Regions from separate parts of the Homo sapiens genome. Here region 2 is linked to region 1. Evidence: promoter capture Hi-C in 16 types of primary human blood cells and fetal thymus (Javierre and others, 2016). All regions are on one chromosome and are shown on one strand. Each heading gives the region's core, a stretch centred on a gene start or on the middle of the fragment in contact. The rest is flanking DNA. Distances are from core to core; before and after follow the strand shown. Region 1 holds the start of GRPR (gastrin releasing peptide receptor). Region 2 has its middle 110 kb from the start of AP1S2.

Region 1 (4,048 bases), core at 782-3,281:
CCAGATCACCTGAGGACTGTTTGTTCCTCTACAAAATGAGAATCCAGCACCACATGTATTAAAATGTGGGACATTTTCTTCGGAGTATAAACTTTCAAGAGCAGCATCTATGTCTTTTCCAGAACACTCTCAAATCCTTCTGTATCTTTAACACATAACATACAGTTGATTATAAGTGAAAAATTTATAGTCTAGGTTCATTGCAGCAGTTTTTCTGGGTTTGACCATATGGTCTATGCTGTGTCTGAAAGTCTATTCATTACTATGTCCAATTTCCAGAACACAGAAGTACATAAAGTATGTTCAGTAATTTATGTGAACAACCTGCAGCTATTTCTTGACTTGCTAATTCAGGTAAGTGTTTCTTACATGCTAGACACTTGATAAATGTTCAAAGAATGAATATATAGTTTTAAGACTGAATAAACGTAAACTTTTATGCAATGTGCTCACACAAGAAATGCAGTTTGCAAATATGTATATTTCCCAGAATAAAAAACTGTAGTGAACTCCCTCTTCCTCCCCACAATAAGCCCCAAAAGCATGGTATATGAAGTATTGTCAATAAAGATATTAAAATTAGAAATCAACCTTGAATAGAGCTTTCTCCAGAAAATTTTAAAAACTCAAATAATGTTTGATTTCATTTAAGAGAGACTTAGGAAAACCGGCATACAATTGTTCTATCACAGAGAGTCAAATTCAAAATCAGCTGTGAGAAAAGTTAAACTGTCTGAGGAAAATGAATTTCAGAGAAATGAGGCTTATTTTCTCCTCTTGGTTATTTCTGAAAGAACGTTTTGAAGAAATCCAGTGGAACTTTCCTGTTCTCTGAGGGGTTTCAATTGCTCCTAAAAAACATTTGCCTGAGGTTTAAACTCTATTGGGTGTGATTGTCTTTCTCACTGGTCAATTAATTTTGCAAGGAGGGAGAAGTTAGGAAAAGGCAATGCTAAATAGATATGTCTCCAGAAAAAGGCACCTCAGTTTTCTGCTTAGAGATTTTTTTTTTCTCATCTGTCTCCTTCTGTCCCCATCATTCACTTTTCTTTCTTAAACCAATATGTTACACTCAAGAAGTCATACCCAGAATAAAAACCTGCCTGGAAGGGAATCCGTGTTTGAGTAAAACTTCCCTTGTGCAATCAGCTCCCTGTCCCGACATGGTAGTTCATTTACCCAGGCGTCTATCACCCTTGGAGAGCATGTAACTTTCAGCCTGTACTTACCTGTCTGCCGAGAGCGCCGTGAGTGTGAAGACAGACACCCCAACAGAGGTAAGCTGTATAAAGGGGATCAGTTTGCAGCCAATCCTGCCAAATAGCCATCTGTCAGCCAGGTACCTGCTGGCATCCACTGGAGCACACGTTATTAGGAGGAGCAGGTCTCCCAAAGCCAGACTGGAAATGAACAGGTTTGGAACGTTTCGCATGGACTTGACTGTACAGAAGATCTTGATCAAAGTGATGTTGCCAATGAGGCCTATCAGAATGATAACCCCATAAACTGCAGGGATGACATAGAGGATCCCCGGGTGGGACCAGTCATCGTTCACGGGGAGATCCGCACTGTGACTGGAGATGTTGCAGTGCATGAAATGGTCCACCTCCAAGTTCAGAAGGAAACAGTCATTTAGAGCCATCTCTAGATTTTTTTTCCCACCTAAAAGTTCCCTTAGATGCTATTTCTTAACTATTGATTTTGCAACCGAGTGAAGATGAAGATAAGATCTATGCCGGGCTCTTTGCCTTCTTTAATAAAAATACTCTGAGTACATATATACTAACTATGGTATTCAAAACTCTCTGTCACTATTTTGACACTGGTGCTGCTCTGGCTTTCACATGACCAGTGCAATACAACTCTAAATTCAATAAGTTAACAACAACAAAACTTAGCCACAAAAAGGCTTAGAATTAAACCCACTCTGCATCAGTTCTTTCTACCTCCATTCTAGTCTGAGTCTCCCTGGCTGCAGTTTACTAAGAACTTTTGGCCTGCTATTTTCCCACAGCGTCTTTCCTGATATTTAGAATCTGGAGGTTTAAAGTGGGTAGAAAAAAACTGCACTGAGAAATCCTCAAATCCTATAGGCAGGATGCTTTGCACGTCACGGGCTTCACCAGCAAACGGCAGCTCCGCTGAGCTGAGGCTCTGAAGAGGAACCAGTGTTACTTATAGACAGAGAATGCCAGCCCCCTGCTGGACACTTCAATCACTGCCCAGTTGCCTGCTTTCTCCAGATGAGAAGCAACCAGCCGACTGCAGTTCCTACCTAGCTTAACAGATACCTTTGGCTTCTCATGTAAGCACATAGCACCTAGGGTAGGTATTTAATAAATGTTGCTAGCATTCTGCAAAGGCACTGAAAATCTTTCTGATACTATCCCCATGAATCCAGATGGGGATTTACATCCCATTTTCTCATTTTTTCTAATTCATTAGAATGACATGTCAATATTGCTATCAAATGAGGTCTGTCTTTGAATTAAACGCACACTGATGCACAGGGTGTCCATGTGTGAGTTATCCCACTCAGTCTTCCCACTGCCTCTTTGAACAGGGACTGATCCTCAGAAACACATGCACAGACTCACACCTTAAACCTTCAGCAACTGACATCTGGAAAAGCCAGAAGCACAATGCACACATGTTCTTTCCTGTAGATTTGCCAAGCCATTCCTATTCTGTTTACCAGGGAGAAATTAAATTGGGAACCAGCTGTATTCTTAACTCTCAATGATCAATAGTCTTTTCCAGAAAAATGGGTCTTTTCTCATCTGATCTAAAAATTTTATGAATCGGCATTTTGATGCAGCTATTTGCATTTTTAATTGAATGTTTGCCATGTTTTATAGCAAATATCCTCTTTATAGCCCTGTGTGGAAAATAAAGAACTATAAAAGCGTGATAGATACAATACTGAGGAATTGAGTGGGTGGTAAAAGAAGTAAGTTATCGTTGAAGGAGTGCTAGAAAAAGCTTAATTGAGGAAGTGCTATTAGAATCAGGCTTAGACCTTTAGCCAACAACTTCTAAATACATTATTAGAGTGCATCTTTATGACGTATGTGAAGCCAGCTCCTCCAGGTACATGACGTGAAGCCAGTCACTAACAGGTGAAGTCTCATTTTTCAGAACCCATAAGGAATAACAAAACTTGCACTTACCATGCCAGGGCCCACAAAGAAAGCCCCCAACTGTGTTGTTATGGACATTTCCAGTGGCAGGTTCCAACACTGAGGCTGCTGCCATGCTTTCTATGTAAATATGAAAGGCTCAGCGCCCCTCTCTGCCAGCAGGAGGGAGACTGATGCTGCATGGCTAGAGGTGGAAGAGCTTCTCGGCAGAGATCAGTAGCACCAGTAACCAGCCAATAGCCATGAGCCCAGTGGTGTTGATTAGTTGCCAGCAATATAGCTTAATGATACAGTACACAGGCTCTGCTTCAATCCTGGCTCCCTCATTTATAATTATGGCAAGTTACTTAGTGTCTTAAGCTTCAGGTTCCTCATCTGCAGGGTGAGGAGAACTTATGAAGTTAGATGAAATGATTCATGTTAAGATTGCATAGTATTTGGCACATAGTAAGTGCTCAATTAATATTAGCACTTATTATTATTATCATTATTAGATTGAGGGGGAAAGGCTTACTTTGGAAAAGCCCAATGAGTTCAGAAGAGTGATTGACCTCAGATCAATAGGCAAGCACTCATACGAGTGAATTAGCAACTCCTTTATTTACTTGAAAAAAATTTATCAAACATCTACCAGTTGCCAGGCACTGAGCAAGAGGCTGAGAAAAATAGCATGAAGATGTGTACTCTCACAGCTCTTTAGACCCCAACCCCTCTCTGGAGTGAAGCAACTACCTTTTCTCCAGAAAAGACGATATCTTTAAAGGTTAAGTGTTGACAAGGTCTTTTGAATGAAGAAAATCATATGTGCCTAGGATCAAGGCATAAAGGAAAGAGCATGACATTGAGCAGAGGGACATCTATAAATCCAGAGGGTCACCCAGATTGGAAGACAGGGGTGGAAAAAGAAC
Region 2 (4,249 bases), core at 1,085-3,584, 160 kb after region 1:
CATTTTTATTCTTGTTCTACCTGGATTCACTACTCAAATAAGTTTATGTTATCTTTACTAGAGGTTTAAGATTATGAAACTATGAGATCAACCTAAGAACAAATGTGCAAGTGGATGTGTAGTGCTCATTACTCCATGTATATCAAGCACAGCAGAAAAAAAACATGTATTTAACTTTCAGGTTCTTGCTTTGGTGATGACTGCCTAACATGCACATGCTGTAAAAAAGTTAAGAGGGAAATAACTTGAGATGATGGCTAGCTTTGTGTAATGTCTCATGAAATTTTCATGAGCAATCCAAGCATAATTGTTATGAATAGGTAAATTAAATAGATGTAAGTGGGATGGAATTTATAAATGTGCTTTTTAATTATATTATATTATATTAATTATATTATATATTATATTATATATATATATATTTTTTTTTTTTTTTGAAACAGAGTCTCACCCTGTTGCCCAGGCTGGAGTACAGTGGCACAATCTCAGCTCACTGCAACCTCCGCCTCCCGGGTTCAAGCAATTCTTGTGCCTCAGCCTCCTGAGTAGCTGGGATTACAAGCATGAGTCAACATGCCTGGTTAATTTTTGTATTTTTAGTAGAGACAGGGTTTCTCCATGTTGGACAGGCTGGTCTTGAACTCCTGACCTCAAGTGATCTGCCCACCTCGACCTCCCAAAGTGCTGGAATTACAGGCATGAGCCACTGCGCCCAGCCTAACGTTAATTATATTTTATAATATGTCTATTTAAAAGCAGATTTCCAAATCTCTTTGGTAACTTACACCCTTAGAGTGTCAGTAAGTTAAATAGCAGATACCTATTGAATATCTAGACCATTTCCAAATAAGATAAAATGCTGATAATTGCTTACATAAGCTTTACCACTTTTGGCATCTTATTATAAGAAGAACTAAAGATATTTGAGCCTATTAGCAAACATGTCCTGTGCCACATTGAAAAATGGTAATATGAGGGAGCACATACTTTTAGAAATTAAAATGACTAAGAGTTAAGAATTCGAATTAATACATGTGATTAAAACTACTAGAAATTATAAGAGAAACAGCTCTATATACAAGGAAGATAAGATGTATTTTTGATAAGGAAAGTTGTAAGGTATGAGGATATATTTTTGCTAAAGAAAAGAGAGTAATGAATTCTATGCTAAAATAGGCTGACAGATTGTTTTAGGATGAAAAAGGAGAATGAAGGACAAAAACTGAATGCATATAGAAAGCTGGAAGAGAGAGATAAAGAGAGAGAATATCTCATGGCTAAAATGGAATTAATGTATTATAAATGTTTTAAAAATGAGCCTTAATAGGCCGGGCGCGATGGCTCACGCCTGTAATCGCAGCACTTTGGGAGGCCAAGAGGGGAGGATCACGAGGTCAGGAGATCAAGACCATCCTGGCTAACACGGTGAAACCCCATCTCTACTAAAAATACAAAAAAATTAGCCGGGCGTAGTGGAGGGCGCCTGTAGTCCCAGCTACTCGGGAGGCTGAGGCAGGAGAATCGCTTGAACCCAGGAGGCGGAGGTTGCAGTGAGCCGAGATCGCGCCACTGCACTCCAGCCTGGGCGACAGAGCGAGACTCCGTTTCCAAAAAAAAAAAAAAAAAATGAGCCTTAATATTAAAAGTACATTGGTATAAAACTAGAAGCTGGTTTTCTCTCTGTTAAAAGGACAAAGGTTTTTTGGAGCATTGGTCTTCTCTTGAAAGGTTTTCTTTACCTTTTGAGTGAGCTGGCTAGAAAACAAAGATTTTATGTCTTATCAAAATAATTTCCTTTGCTTCATGTTGTCTTTTATCAGGTCTTTGGTGACTTAAGAAAACTGAGTCCCCTCTACTAAAATAGCCAAGGTTTTTTTCTACAACTATTTAACTTTCTGTATTTGCCTTTGAAGTCTTTTAATTATCACTCTGGTTACATGAATGACTATTGTTTCACAGTGACCTGTGATCTTCTTTAATCAACTGTTTTAAACTTTTTGACATTTTTGACAACCTCCCAAAGGCAAATTCTAAATTAAGTCTTTTTAACCTCAAATTAACTTTGGGATTTTTTAGATGGGCCCCAGGAATATCACAAAAGAATTTGTTCTATCTCCTTATATTAATACAAAGAGAGATGTTAAACTAATTAAGTTTATTTTACATGTTAAATTGTATGGAAAGTATTGTCAAATAACAAGTGATGCTAAAGCTTCTACATGTTGCTAAAATGACACTTCAGTAACTGTATGTAACTCCTAGAAATCTGATACATCCTGACATAATGTTTTCAGTCATAATTTTAGTTATTATCTCAAAATATTGTATTTCACAGAAATAAAATTTCCTTGCCAATTACATTATAATGAACTTTTATCTGATCTTTCACCATTGCCATTTTAAGTCTTGTCATCCACCGTCAATTGTTTTACTCTGGTTCTTTCATGAAAGCTTTTGCAAGCAACTATAACCCTGAAGTGTTTCATCTTCAAGGAGATTCATGGAAAGGACTCTGACAAGTACAGGTTTCTAATAACTCTAAGATCATACCATTGAACTGGGGAGAATTTCTAGAACTCCAATGAAGAAACTGATTGGTTGATAAAAGTACTAACCCAATATCAAGCAGAATATGAGTTAATTACATGGGACCAAATGAACTGTTGAAAAAGAATTATGTTTTCTTGTAAACTTGTTGTTTAAAACTGCACTGATTCTTTAATGTTTTTCTAGGTTTGTTTTTTTTTTTTTTTGAGATGGAGTCACGCTCTACTGCCCAGGCTGGAGTGCAGTGGCACGATCTCAGCTCACTACCACCTCCGCCTCCCGGGTTCAGGCAATTCTCCTGCCTCAGCCTCCTGAGTAGCTGGGATTACAGGCACACGCCACCATGCCTGGCTAATTTTTGTATTTTTAGTAGAGACGGGGTTTCACCATGTTGGTCAGGCTGGTCTCAAACTCCTGACCTCATGATCCACCCGCCTTGGCCTCCCAAACTGCTGGGATTACAGGTGTTTTCTAGATTTAAGAAAACTTTTTCTTTTATTTTAAGCTATCTATAGCTTATAACAATTTGGCAAATTATACTTTTGTAAAGAGAATTAAAATATTGACTTTTTCTCCCTACCTGATCCCTCCAGAATTCAGAAGCTATTAGTGGGTATTCTGTTTTTATGGCAATGTAGTTATTTGCATAAGTTCAATAAGAATCTGTTTTCTTTTTTAACAGGACATAATTGGAAACATTGATTATATTACCAAGGCATTTGACTAGAACATCATATTTGAGAATGTGCATAGAACTAGATATGATCAGTTTTTAAGGAACTAAGGTTAACTTCATGGAGACAATAACCATTCCCTGACCCCCCAGAAAAACTGCCTTGGTACCCAATTTAAATGCGTTTCCAGCGTTACAGGTGGGTAAAGAATGCCACTTCCTAGAAGGCCCAGGAACCTCAAGATACCTTGGAGACAGAAAGAAGAGAGGAATTCACCCAAATCAATAAGCATTGCAGGCAAAGTCTGATGGCAAGTCCTAGGCTTGGTTTCTTAGCCTCAAGAGGCTTTTAAAAGTTTAACCTGAGATTTCATATGAAATCTTCCAGGAAAGCGGAGTGTAGATGGTCAATCACTATTCTTGCTGCACTTATATAAATAATCAGGCCAAGTTTAATGAGACTAGACTTATTTTGCAAATAAATTAATCCTACTCCGATTGTCTTTGGCAAAAATGGGGGTGACCATACAGAGAGGAAAATATGTTTCAGAAGAAGACTGTAGTGCAGTCATTATTAGACTCTAGCTTTTTTTGTTTGTTTTTTTAGAGATGGGGTCTCACTCAGTTGCCCAGGCTGGAGTGTGGTGGTGCAATCATAGCTCACTGCAGCCTTGAACTCCTGGGCTCAAGCAATCCTCCCGCCTCAGCCTCCCAAAGTGCTGGAACTGCAGGCATGAACCACCACACCCAGCCCCCTATTCACTGTTTTCGAGGTTTTAGTATCTATCTATAAACTAAACTGGATCCTGAATTCTTTTAGTTTCCTCCAATATCTAATTGCGACTCTCCAAACTAACATTTCTAACTTTCTTCCATCTTTCTAACTTAGAATCGCTAAGAACAAAAACTGCCCTTTTCTCAAAGCCCTGCAAGCTGAAGCTGGATGACTTGATATAGACTTCAAAGAAACCACCACAACAGTTTAGGTATGGGCAACCTTCATGCTTATTGCTGTTATGGGCCATGAAG

Evidence for each region. Contacts are between HindIII fragments. The CHiCAGO score rates a contact against its expected background, and 5 or more counts as called.
Region 2: a fragment that was not itself captured here is called in contact with the fragment with the promoter of GRPR in region 1 in 2 of 17 cell types (total B cells and M0 macrophages); the score reaches 6.8 in total B cells.

The regions. Positions count from the first base shown.
Region 1 is chrX:16,121,548-16,125,595 of GRCh38, reverse strand. GRPR (gastrin releasing peptide receptor) reads right to left here and starts at 2,031. Exons shown (of 3, transcript NM_005314.3): 1 at 1,230-2,031. The coding sequence starts at 1,642. RefSeq lists an enhancer at 2,036-2,330. The HindIII fragment of the contact is 8,500 bases long and covers 1-2,984 here.
Region 2 is chrX:15,966,192-15,970,440 of GRCh38, reverse strand. No RefSeq gene overlaps it. Among named protein-coding and RNA genes, the nearest start is that of AP1S2, 110 kb to the right of the region's middle. The HindIII fragment of the contact is 239 bases long and covers 2,215-2,453 here.